Linked DNA regions of Homo sapiens: all the other regions are linked to region 3. Evidence: promoter capture Hi-C in 16 types of primary human blood cells and fetal thymus (Javierre and others, 2016). All regions are on one chromosome and are shown on one strand. Each heading gives the region's core, a stretch centred on a gene start or on the middle of the fragment in contact. The rest is flanking DNA. Distances are from core to core; before and after follow the strand shown.

What was found. The method cuts DNA at HindIII sites, captures the fragments that hold promoters and counts their contacts. A CHiCAGO score of 5 or more calls a contact.
Region 1: a contact is called between a fragment that was not itself captured here and the fragment with the promoter of RNF2 in region 3, in 1 of 17 cell types (total CD8 T cells). The highest score is 5.4, in total CD8 T cells.
Region 2: a contact is called between a fragment that was not itself captured here and the fragment with the promoter of RNF2 in region 3, in 9 of 17 cell types (naive CD8 T cells, naive B cells, fetal thymus and 6 more). The highest score is 8.7, in naive CD8 T cells.
Region 4: a contact is called between a fragment that was not itself captured here and the fragment with the promoter of RNF2 in region 3, in 10 of 17 cell types (total CD8 T cells, naive CD8 T cells, non-activated CD4 T cells and 7 more). The highest score is 9.1, in total CD8 T cells.

The regions. Positions count from the first base shown.
Region 1 is chr1:184,782,983-184,785,956 of GRCh38, forward strand. No RefSeq gene overlaps it. Among named protein-coding and RNA genes, the nearest start is that of EDEM3, 30 kb to the left of the region's middle. The HindIII fragment of the contact is 366 bases long and covers 1,515-1,880 here.
Region 2 is chr1:184,758,857-184,762,263 of GRCh38, forward strand. The region is part of intron 2 of LOC105371649 (a long non-coding RNA gene); the gene reads left to right. Among named protein-coding and RNA genes, the nearest start is that of EDEM3, 5.7 kb to the left of the region's middle. The HindIII fragment of the contact is 8,455 bases long and covers 1-3,407 here.
Region 3 is chr1:185,043,876-185,047,035 of GRCh38, forward strand. RNF2 (ring finger protein 2) reads left to right here and starts at 1,683. Exons shown (of 7, transcript NM_007212.4): 1 at 1,683-1,774. RefSeq lists a silencer at 1,313-1,572. The HindIII fragment of the contact is 4,610 bases long and covers 347-3,160 here.
Region 4 is chr1:184,742,765-184,746,022 of GRCh38, forward strand. The region is part of intron 2 of EDEM3 (ER degradation enhancing alpha-mannosidase like protein 3); the gene reads right to left. Among named protein-coding and RNA genes, the nearest start is that of EDEM3, 10 kb to the right of the region's middle. The HindIII fragment of the contact is 2,444 bases long and covers 515-2,958 here.

The sequences.
Region 1 (2,974 bases), core at 448-2,947, 260 kb before region 3:
GGAGTGCAGTGGTGCAATCATGGCCCACTGTACCCTTGACCTCCCCTGGCTGAGGTGATCCTCCCACCTCAAGCTCCCAAGTAGCTGGGACTATAGGTGCACACCACCACACTTGGCTAATTTTTCTACATAGAGATGTTGCCCTGGCTGGTCTCGAACTCCTGGGCTCAAGCAATCCTCCTGCCTCAGCCTCCCCATGTGTTGGGATTACAGGTGAGAGCCCCCATGCCCAGCCAAGGGAGATATTGTATCCACCCCCACAGCTTTAACTATCAATATATATGCCATTGACTTCCAAATCCTTATTTCTATCCTTGACATTTTTTGAGATCTTGTTTTATATATCTGTTGCAGGAGTCAGGGACCCCAAATGGAGGGACTGGCTGGCGCCACGGCACAGCAACATAAATTGTGAAGATTTTATGGACATTTATCAGTTCCCCAAATTAATACTTTTATAATTTCTTACACCTATCTTTACTGCAATCTCTGAACATAAATTTTGAAGATTTTATGGACATTTATCAGTTCCCAAATAATACTCTTATAATTTCTTATGCCTGTCTTTACTTTAATCTCTTAATCCTGCTATCTTCGTAAGCTGAGAATGTACATCACCTCAGGACCACTATTGTGTTGAACTGTACAAATTGATTGTAAAACATGTGTGTTTGAACAATATGAAATCAGTGCACCTTGAAAAAGAACAGAATAACAGCGATTTTCAGGGAAGAAGGGAAGACAACCATAAGATCTGATTGCCTGTGGGGTTGGGCAGAATAGAGCCATATTTTTCTTCTTGCAGAGAGCCTATAAATGGACATGCAAGTAGGGAGGATATCACTGAATTCTTTTCCTAGCAAGGAATATTAATAATTAAGACCCTGGGAAAGGAATGCATTCCTGGGGGGAGGTCTATAAAGGGCCACTCTGGAAGTGTCTGTCTTATGCGGTTGAGATAAGGACTGAAATACGCCTTGGTCTCCTGCAGTACCCTCAGGTTTATTAGGGTGGGGAAAAAACCCCACCCTGGTGAATTTGAGGTCAGACTGGTTCTCTGCTCTCGAACTCTGTTTTCTGTTTTTTAAGATGTTTATCAAGACAATACATGCACATCTGAACATAGACCCTTATCAGAAGTTTTTGATTTCGCCCTTTGCCTTGTGATCTTTGTTCTCCTTTTTTGCCCTTTGAAGCATGTGATCTCTGTTCATACACCCCCTCCCGTTTTGAAGTCCTTAATAAAAACCTGCTGGTTTTGCAGCTCAGGTGAGCATCATGGTCCTACCAATAAGTGATGTCACCCCCAGAGGCCTAACTATAAAATTCCTCTCTTTGTACTCTTTCTCTTTATTTCTCAGCCGGCCGACACTTAGGGAAAATAGAAAGAACCTACATTGAAATATTGAGGGTGGGTTCCCCCGATATATATCCATTTTGGTTTTGGTGAAAATTAGATTAATAAATGCCCTGAAGACAACAAAAAGCTTTCTAAGAGGAAGAATAAAATGTTAAGCTTGTTCCTAGGTAAGATAATCCAGTGGAGCTTGCAGCCTAGAAGCCCATATCTATAACATTTAACCATTTAACCATTGAAGCACTTGTTTTTCCTGAACTGCATTCTGTGGGTAAGGTGTTTTCTTGAAGGAATGGGTTCATATGGCCTTTTACAAGCTGGGGTCGGAAGTAGAGGGAATGTTGGTGAGCCCCACCTTTACAAATAAGTAGCAAACTGACAACCAAGTCTTCCTTTTATCTCCTCAGAAGGAGTAAAATATGGTAGACCTGGAAACTTAAATATAAGAACTTTTCATTTTTTGTAACTTGTAGAGTTTTTATTATTTTATCTCATTTATTTTCCTATAGTGCTTGGAAGCAAAAGCTTTGCCAAAAAAAAAGTGCTCCTTGCTTTCCTTTGAAGACAGCAAGGAAGGAAGTGAAAAAAGGTGCCTTACTCTGGGTTGGGTTTGGGGAGAGAAGATCCTCAAGAGAAAATGTGTTAGACTATGATGTAGAGGTTATTGAAGGAGAGGAGGGGTAATTTGAGGGACCTGCTTCAAGGAAGAAAAGAATAAACAAGGAATTAGTTTGTAAAAACACTCAACATGGGGACTGAAAGCCATGCCACATAAAAAAAGGGAAGGTCTTTGGAATATTGATCCTGGAGAAGGGGTCTCAGTTGTTTGGAGATGTTTGAAAGCTCTCATTCAAATGTTGTGTACAACCCTGTTGGACAGAATTGGATCTATGGAATGAAAATTATGGTCAGAAATGGTGGTGGAGGTAGAGCGGAGAATGGGAGGGCAATATTTTTGCTCTCTATTAAATTTGTCTGAAAATGGGATGTGCTCCTCCTTAGGGGGATAGTAAATTCCCCATTCTTGGCAATGACCACTTAGCAGGAAAATTTTAAAGGAGAAATGCAAGTACAATGAATGCATTTGCATTGGATGAAATTTAGAATATCTCTCAACTCTAAGAGTTTATGATTCTATGAATACATTGAGTGTCAAGACATGCAGGGAAAACTCCCTCTCCTCCAAAAGCTTACGATCTGGTCAGGTGTCAAAACACATGGGAAATTATTAAAAATTTCTTGGTGGTACATAAATGCCAAAATCAATGTTGTCAGATATAATAGTCAATGGGATTCATAGAAAGGAGGCTTGAAATGATGCCAGGAACAGAATATGAGTCCTGATGTGGTCTATGTGTTGGGCAGACAGGTAAAGGAAAAAGCATTCTTGCTGAGATGGCATATTACAAGAGGAGGAATAAAATTGTTCTAACAAAATAAAATTATCAAGCCTCAAAATCTTGTATTCAGCCTTAAGTAAAATTTTAAAAGAAGTAGGTCACTAGGACAACAATATTCTAGTGAGAAAACCAGAAGGGCAAAATCTGGTAAAGCGCTTTTAAGAATATTATATCCTAGGAGTTATATTTTAACAGGTGAAGGAGAGGAGTGAGGGAT
Region 2 (3,407 bases), core at 573-3,072, 280 kb before region 3:
GAGAATCGCTTGAACCCAGGAGGCGGAGGTTGCAGTGAGCCAAGATCATGTCATTGCACTCTAGTCTGGGTGACAAGAGCAAAACCCTGTCTCAAAAAAAAAACAAAAACAAAAACAAAACAAAACAGAACAAAACGTATTTAACCCCGTAATGAAAATAATGGAAATTCTCAGCTAATTGGCACTTTATGAACACTAGGAAAAATTCACTTACGTTATTTTAAAACCTATACACTTAGTGATAAAAAGGATGTACGAGTTAATTGAGAGAGTCTAGTGTTGTACAGAGGGAAAAAGACTGGTGGAAAGCACATCAGAAGAATAAGGATAGAACTTTTAAAGATATAAAGATTTTTTATGTATAAAACCCATTAAAAATGGTAAGAAATAACAGCCATTTCTAAAATGCCCTTTAACCAGTTAACAATCTGTTTGCACAGCCTTGTAGCTTATGTAAATATGCATGCTCACTTTCCTGCTTGGATGTGTCAGAAGTTAGGGAGGGATAGGAGCCCTGGGTAGAACCATATGGATTCAAAAACACAGGGAGGGGCTCCATTTTAATATTATGGCTCAGAAATAGTCCTAGGAAGCTGGGACCAGCTGTGCAAAACTGGTCATAGAACAGCAGTTGCCCCTAAATGATTTGAATTCTTTAGTACTACAGTTCTAATTACTCCTGAAACTAGTATGGAATTTGGGAGTGGTGATTTTGTCATTCTTCAAATTGCTTTTCCTATTCTTTGATAGCATGCAGAATTGACAACAGTTTTCTTCTAGAGAACCCAATCTTGCAAACATTAAATAAAGACAGTAATTATTCTGCATTCACAATTAGTGACTTTGAGGCCTTAGAAAGAGCACCTCATGACAAAGATACTCGGTGAATGTCGTCAACTGACTTCCTGCGTGGCTGTCGGACTGATTTTTTCAAATTCTAAGAAAGAGAATGAGAGATTCAGATGATTCACCTCCCCAAAAGATGTCCCCAGGGCTTTTTCCACCTCTCCATCTTGATTTGAGATCTTCAAAATCACTTCACCTTCAGATTATTATCCCATTTCTCTCACTGGCACTAGCTCCAACTCTCTCAGGCAAGAAAGTTTGCTCATGTGTCATGATTATTTGGTTGGGTCACTTATTTAGTGGCCATTTTCCATTTACTTCAAGTATCAGAAGCAAAACCAAGTCACATGGCTCTTCGAGGGAGTACATTTTGTGTTTGTTCCCTCTCTTAAATCCCCATTTCACCATCAGCATAGTTCCCACTTATTGGTACAGTGTGGCCACAGGATTTAGGTGAGCACCATTCAACAACAGTTGCACAGGTACCATTCAGGCCAAGAACAATGGCTCTGAGACAGCTCTGCTGATTATTGGCTGGGCTTCCTTAAGCAAATGACTAAATCTCTGTGCTTTTGTTTCCTCATTTGTAAAATGAGAATAAGAATAATACCTACCTCACAGCATTTTTAGAAAGATTAAATGGTTTAATTGTTATGCCTTCCTTTTAGGGATGTTGTGAAGATAATGAGATGGTGTGTGTAAAATATTTAGTACAGTTTGAAGGAACTCAATAAATAGTAGGTATCCATATCATGATTATGAGGTAAAGAGAAAACATCGCCATTGTTGAGAGTAGGATTCAAGGGTGAGTGCAGCTGCTCCAACAGCACCCATGGCTCTGGTTTTATTTTCAGCCCTGAATCTTTTTTTCTTTTTTAATTATTATTTTTTTAAAAACAGAGAGAAAGAGAGACAGGGTCTCACCATGTTGCCCAGGTTGGTCTTGAGATCCTGGACTCAAGCGATCCTCCCACTTCCGCCTCCCAAAGTGCTAGGATTACAGGTATGAGCCACCATGCCTGGCCCCAGCCCTGAATCTTGTCTACTTCCTTTGCTTGCTTACTTCGTGCTGCCATTGCAGGCTCCCCATCCAAAAATGTAGCCCTCTTTAGGCCAGCAACTCCAGAGACTGTTGAATTCAGGCACAGTTTGTATGAGCTATAGCGCCTCATCCCTGTATTAGAGTAAATACGCACAAAAACACAAGGTACTTTTCTGTCCTCTTAAAATTAATAATGGCTTCATTTGTAAGACATTTGAAGTTATAAACGTTCTGGAATAAAGTTGTCAGAAAATCTTTGCAGCTTTTTTGTTTGTGTGACTTTCTTCAGTTTTACTTTGTTTTTGTAAAAGCTCATCTTACCTCCAACCTCCAAGGGATTTAGAAAGATAGTTTTACTGGTTATCTAATTATGAAATTAAGGATCAAAGTGAAAGGTGCCCAGTTGATCTTGTCAAAAAGCATTAGGTAGAGTAATCCCCAACATTAGGACACTTAAGAATTAAAAATAAGTTATTTCTGTAATGATCCTATCATTTCTCATTATCCAAATCCGACATTCTTCCTAGAATTGTTATCCAAACCCTGTGTTCTTCCTAGGAGCTCCCTTTGCATACATATACATATATGTTTTGTATATGAGTATATATAAATATATACACATATACAATATACATATATTGCACATGTATGTATTTGTATACACATACTTGTAGTACTGTCTTTTCACCCTTTCTTCCTGTTCTTGTAATCCTCAGAGTGGTCCAAATTTGTCAATCCCCAGCATTTCTTAACCTCAGAGGTAAATGCTGACAGTCCTTAAATATTTGAAATTAAATATTTCCTGGCCTCCAGCTTAAAGTTCTATGAAAACAGTGCTTATTTCTGTTTCTTCTCCAAATGTATTGATAAGTTTGGAGTTTTTTTGGTTGGGATTGTTTTTTGCTTGATTTTTTACAGGTAGGGCTTTTAGGTAATAAGTGGGGGTAGTAAAGGTTTGTGATGGATGAGAAGTAGAATAAAGAGTTCTTGGTTTATTTGCAGATCAATCTCTTTGTGATACTTTAAAATCAGTATACAACCTTCAAATACATGATTATACTTAAAACTTTGAGAGAGTGGTGTTAGATACACGGCTTTCTTGAAGATCACCATATTTTTCTTGGCACTAGATGATGAGGCAAGTATAGTTTCATTGTGCACAAAATGTACTATTTTTCATCCATTGCTAGAGATTAATAGACATTATTATTTACAGAAGTAGCTCTTAAGCAAATATAATCTTCAGAGCCTTCCTAGCCCTTTTTGGGAGACTTGCACCCAATTTTAGCGCAATCTCTGGGTTCCCAAGGCCCCCACTCTAATGTTTAATGTTTTCTCCTGGTTTTTCTCTGCATCACTTCACATCACTTCCTCTTCCTTCCTACTCCAATTCATTCTGCATGCATATGCGTGTGCGTGCACACACACACATAAACACACACACATTTGCTTTGTGCCTATTCCTGAACATTGAACTTTGAATCAGCTGACTTGGGTTCTACATTTAGATCTGCTAGTT
Region 3 (3,160 bases), core at 433-2,932:
ATGGCGCGATCTCGGCTCACTGCAACCTCTGCTTCCCAGGTTCAAGCGATTCTCCTGCCTCAGCCTCCCGAGTAGCTGGGACTGCAGGCGCGTGCCACGACACCTGGCTAACTTTTTTTTGTATTTTTAGTAAAGACAGTTTCACCATATTGGCCAGGCTGATCTCGAACTCCTGATCTCAAGTGATCCGGTGGCCTTGGGCTCCCAAAGTGCTGAGATTACAGGCGTGAGCTACCACACCCAGCCTTTTTTTCTCCCCCCACATTGGAGGAAGAGTTTAACCTTGAAGGGCTTGTAGAGTCAGATAACTGTCACTTGTTATTTAAAGTTATAGATAGTAGGCAAAAGCTTTCAAGCCACTGAAAAAGAATAATGCTTGTTTTCTTTGATGGATTGTTAGGTAGCATATATAATGTGCTGTATTTAACACCTGTCCTTTTTCTTTCCACCCATCCAAGGCGTCAAAGGCCATCTTAAATCCCGGCTCCTCAGGAAATCATCCCCAAACACACCAGCTGGAATTGATATTTTTCTTTTCCAAATTCCTATGTAAATTCATGTCATTTATTTGGAATTGCTTATAGAGAGTTTCAGAGCGTTAAAGAACTGGAAAGGACCTAGGATTCAATACAATTCTCTCATCTCGCAGACGAAGAAAATGAAGTGCAGAGGAGCTACGCAATCTACGTAAGTCACATAGACACACATTGGAGGCTATGAACCTAGTTTGCCCAATTCCCACTGCAGTCCATTGGTTTATGCCTCTATGCCTTCAGATTTACGGTCTGGTATTGCTGGTTATCTTCTCAAGAGAACATGACATCTCAACAATAGTACATATAGAGATCAGGGAACTTTCAATTCTTCGTTACTTCTTCAGCTCATAATTTATATGCATTAAATGTCGGATAATTTACTGGAGACTAACTGGCTGTGTTTTAGGTAATGATTACATCTATTAATCTATTACTTCGTAAATCCTCAAGTTCAGAAGGTAACACTGGAAGGGGCCAAGGAGGTAGGAATAAAGCAGCAGCAAGGTAAATAGTAAGAGCTGATGACCACAATCAGAATGTTAAGCTAAGTTTAGAGTGGAAGGTCATTTTCCCAGGAGCAATTACACTTGCAGTTTTATCCTGCAAGGATGAAAAGTGTATGTTTGTTGTACGAGAGCGGAAGGGTGCCGAAGTTCATGTGAAGTTCTGCAAACCAAAGCCTGATGAGGATTTCCGCCGGGTGGGACAGGTTTAAGAGGACGAACTCATGAGAAAGAAGTCTGAGCCCAAACCCCAGAAGCCGGCCAGGAAGGTGTAAAGGGTGGGCCGAAGCCAGGGCAGAAGAACCCAAGCAGAAGGTTGAGCACGAGGTGGCTGCGCCGTCATCCGGGCGTTGCCCGGGGGCTACGTCGGACCGCGGTGGGCGCCGGGGGGGCGTGGCCGGCCAGCCCAGGGCGGGGCGGTGGCGCGGGTTCTCCAGGCCAACACGCGGCGGCGCACCCTCCCTCGCGCCGCGGGCCTCCCCGCGCCGTGCACGTCCTCGTCCCGCGCCTCCGCCCCTCGCTCGCTCGCTCCTTCCCGCCCTCCCCGCAGCGCCGGCCGAGCCGGCTTCCCCTCAGTCTCTCATGAATATTGAGCGGCCCCTGTTGTATTTCCCGAGCTCCATTGCGGAAGCTGAGGCTCGCCATATTGTGCGGCGGCGCCGGCGTCCGCGGCAGCTGATACCAGAGTCTTGCTCCGGCCGCGGCCAGCGGAGCCCTGGGCTGGGGCAGGAGCCGGTGAGTGGGGCGGGCGGGGAGGCGAAGGACGCGGAAGCAGCGGGCCGGGACACGCGTCTACTCGGCAGCGTTGCAGGCGACTGACGGGGGCCCCGGAGTGTGGGGGGGGTGTGTGTCCGCGGGGGTGTGAAGGGACATGGCGCCGCCGCCGCCCCCGGCCGCTCTCGCGGCGGAGACGGCGGGTGAAGCGGGTTCTCATTGTTCCCGTGTCTTCGAGGGTCGTGGGAGGGAAGGGAGCTGGTTTGCGGAGGACCCAGTCAGCGAAGCGCCGGGATTCCTTCCTTCGCCGCGAGCCTTTCGCTGCCCTTTCCTCTGCGCGGAGGCCGGCGCTGCGGCGCGGTCCCCTCGCCTCCGGGGGCGGGGGCCCCAGCCTCTCTGCAGCCCTACTCCGGAGGCGGACGGAGTGGAATGCGAGTTTTTTCTCTGGGCTTTCGCCTCGCAGCTAGGGATGTGTGTCTGCATCGTGGGGGTGGGGTAGGGGGCACTTTGTGCAGATATCGCTCCTTCCTTCTGGGGGGTCGGAGTCGGGGTTCCAGTGTAGAGGAGCTCCTCGACCTCGGGGTTCCTCGGGGAGACCCCTTCAGCTTCACACATTCCTGGAGTGCCGCCTCCTGCTCTGGAGTATCTGTTGCTGCTTTCTAAAACCGTGAGCTTACCCAGGAGGAGTCGTGGGGGGAGGGGGTGTCTTGGTTAGTTTCTGCGGGAAGATTCGCGTTTTGAACCGTGTCGTTTACGCTGAGATGCTAGTACCCACTTTTGCCGGGAGCCCACGTCCTGCTGGTCAGAATCGTTTACCTTCTACAGAAGTCTCCTTCTTGCTTTCAGAGATGGTGTTAGTAAAAATTGATCTCAAACTTTGAGGTTCATTCCAGTTATTTGCCCGCTAAGATCAATTATAGACTCATCTATTTGAAGCCCCTTTGGGTATCTTTTTCGAGGCTGTCGGAAGTTTTAGAGAATGTAACTTTACATTGTAAAATGATTTGAAGATGTCAGGTTTCTTTGAAGTGCCGTGAAAAGGATATACATATGCACTCAGTATTTTAGTAATACGCTGTTTTTCAATTAAAAAAATTAAGGCATGGTTTCAGTGTTCTAAACCGAGGATATGTTTAAAACGAATGTACGAGCGATTTGCATTACATAATCTACTTTTGGTAATTCCAAGATGATCAGCTGGAATACTTAGTCTAATTGGTAGCTAATCTATCTGTTTTGTATTAAGTGCAGTTGTTGAATATTCTAATAACTGAGGTGGGTGTGAGAGTTTGCTTCTTATAGTGAAATTTGATCCTTGGATTTATAAAGTATTTAAATAGCAGCAATATGACTCTTGGTTATTCCCTTTTTCCCCTGAAATTTCTACTTTTCACAATCAACAAGTAT
Region 4 (3,258 bases), core at 487-2,986, 300 kb before region 3:
GATTTCCCAGAATGTACATTTTTATTGCTTTATAGTTTTATATTTAACACATATAAACAACACTTAGAAGAAATACAAAAATTTTTTAAAATTCCTAATGTATTTTGAAAGAATCTTTGTAAAACATCATTCAAATGTTAATTAGGTTGTAAACAGTTCCTTACTATTTTAAACACTGCATAGAAAACTTCATACTGCTGTTTTTTAGGGTTTTCTAACACACAGACACACACATACCTCTGTCTGAAATTAATATAAATTCAAACTCTAAATTAAATATGCCATTCAAATCCTGAAATTAATCTAGATAATAAAAATATTAATAGCAATTGCAACCCAGAATAATCAAATAAGGGAGTTTCAAACCAGGTGTAAAAATACTTTGTCTCTTTGTTTCAAGATTAAGAATAAAAATACAACCACACCTTTTTCTTTGGGTTAACCACAAAGCAAACTACAGACAGTTTGCACAAATTCAGAGCAATGCATACGTGGCAAATTAACAGCCTTATCAAGCTTCAAACATCCTGGCTTTTTGAGGCACAGTAATACCTCCTCTCTCTTCACAGTTTATTGTTGAGGGATACGTAATTCATATTGATATGACTCAGAGCCATGAGAAACATTTAATAATTATCACTCAGAAATAAAACTCAGATGATGAGAGTCCTATATAAATTAAGTAGAACATGTGCCTAGCTGAAAGAGCAAAAATAAAATAAAATAAAATAAAATAAATCATAATAGACCCTCCATATCAGACTCTAAATTTACTAGGGCTTTGAGGTAACAGACTTCTGCTCTAAACCACTCAAGTCAAAGCAGCATCAAAAACTGACTCTTTGCTCCTAGATCTGGTAACTTCAGCAATTTTAAAAAAGAACAACAAAGCTGAAAGACTTAAACTGCCTGAGTTCAGGACCCACTATTAAACTACAATAATCAGGACAATGTGATATTTGTATAAGGGTAGATAGATCAACAAAACAAAATACAGAGTCTAGAAACACACCCATGTATACATGATAAACCAATTTTTTTACACATATTTCAAAATAATTCAGTAGGGAAAGGATATTATTTTCAACAAATGGTGCTGGAATAACTAGACAGCCACATTAAAAAAATATATAAATCCACCTTTACCTCACATCATATACAAAAATTAACTCAAAATCAGTTATAGATCTAATGAACAAGCTAAAATTATAGAACATCTAGGAAAAAAAAACAAGAAAAAATTTGTGACATTGGGCTAGGCAAATATTTTTTAGGTAGGCTATAAAAGGCATGAATCATAAGAGAAAAATAATAAACTGGATTGATCATAATTTAAAGTATTTGTGCTTCAAAAGTTCCTGTTAAGAAAATTAGAATGTAAAGCACAGACTGGGAGAAAATATATCCAAAGCATATATTTGATAAGGGACTAATATCCAGAACATATTAACTTTTATAACTCAGTAATAACAGAACAAATGACAAATATATATATATATATATATATATATATATATATATATATATATGAATAGCAAATAAGCATATGGGAAAATTTTCAATGTCATTAATCATCAGGAAAAATCAAATTAAAATCACAATGAACTACCACTATACACCCAACAGAATGGCTGAAATTAGTAAGACTGGAAATACCAAGTGGAAGGACACAGAATAATTAAAACTCATACACTGCTGGTGGGAAATGCAAAATATTATAGCCATTTTAGAAAAGATTGGCATTTCTTATTAAGTTAAACTTACACTTGCCATATGACCTAGTAATCCTATTCCTAGGTGGGAAATATATGAAAATGTATGCCCAAATAAAAACTTGCACTCACAGGTTGACAGCAGCTTTATTAATACAATAATAGCCAAAGACCAAAAATAAGTCAAATACTCATTAAATGGTGAATGGACAAAGAAATTATGTTCAATCAAATCAACTAATACTACTGAGTAATAAATAAGAATTACAATATATCTCCAATATTGTGTTCTAGCAAATCAACTAACACTACTGAGCAATAAATAGGAATTACAATATATCTCCAACAACATGGATAAATCTCAAAAGCATCATGCTAAATGAAAGAAAGTAAATCAAAAGACTATGTACTGTATGATGCCATATATATGAAATCCTAGGAAAGAGAAAGGTGTAGTGACAAAACACAAATCAAGGTTGCTAGGCGTCAGAGGTGGGGAGAAGGAATTTACTGCAAATAACTATGAGTTAAATTTTTGGGGTGATGAAAATGTTCTGTATCATGACTGTGATGGTGGTTAAACAACTGTATACAATTGTCAAAAAAGAATTGTGCACTCAATTTGAAATTTTATTGTCTGTAAATTATATCTAAAAAAGATGAATTAGCTGAACGATCTGGTTCTACTGAATTAAAATTCTATGTAGAGTATCAGAGTGTGATTACAAAATGTTTTGAGAGGATACTATAGAATTTCTTGTGTAATTTTGGTAGGGTTTTAGGATGTTCTGAAAGCAAAGGCCAAGGAACAATGACTCATAGATGATAGTCCCACAACAGTCTACACAAAAAAAGGTAAATATAAATTTATATCTCCCTTACTCCCATTAGTACCATGCCTAAAATACTTTGTTTACAGAATTACTGTTTCTGATGAATGAACCATTAAAGAGAAACACCGAGTACAGAGTTTCAGATTGGGAAGATGAAAAAATTTCTAGAGATGAATGCACAACAATATGAATGTACTTAATGCCACAAAACTGTAAACTTAAATGGTTAAAATGGTAAATTTCATATTATGTATATTTTACAACAATAAAAATTTTTTTTAAACATTGGGGGGTAGGGGAGAGGCACTCCAAAAAAATGTACATAAATCTAGAAATGCACAGGAAGTTCATTTTGAAAGAGTTCCTTTGGTTTGATTAATAAAGACTATTCTACTGTTGCTTTCACAAAATCAAGCTTAATAGTGGTTATTAGGTACGATTCTACTAAAGGAAATTGTGCTTACCAACTCTATCCAAGCTTATTTTTAATGTTTAGGGCTCTTACCAGAATATAGTTTTTGCTTGTAACAGTTTGAGTTGTCTAACACAGACAGGAAAAACACTGGGAGCTCCAAAAAGGTTCTACATTTGGATGGCCCAAATACATGTCATTTTGTCATCTAAATTAATCTGCAAACTAAACTGAACACAAATACTCAAAACATGCTAACAGAAGCCCTAAAGTGACTGTGGCCTGGGGTTAAATAAGGTCA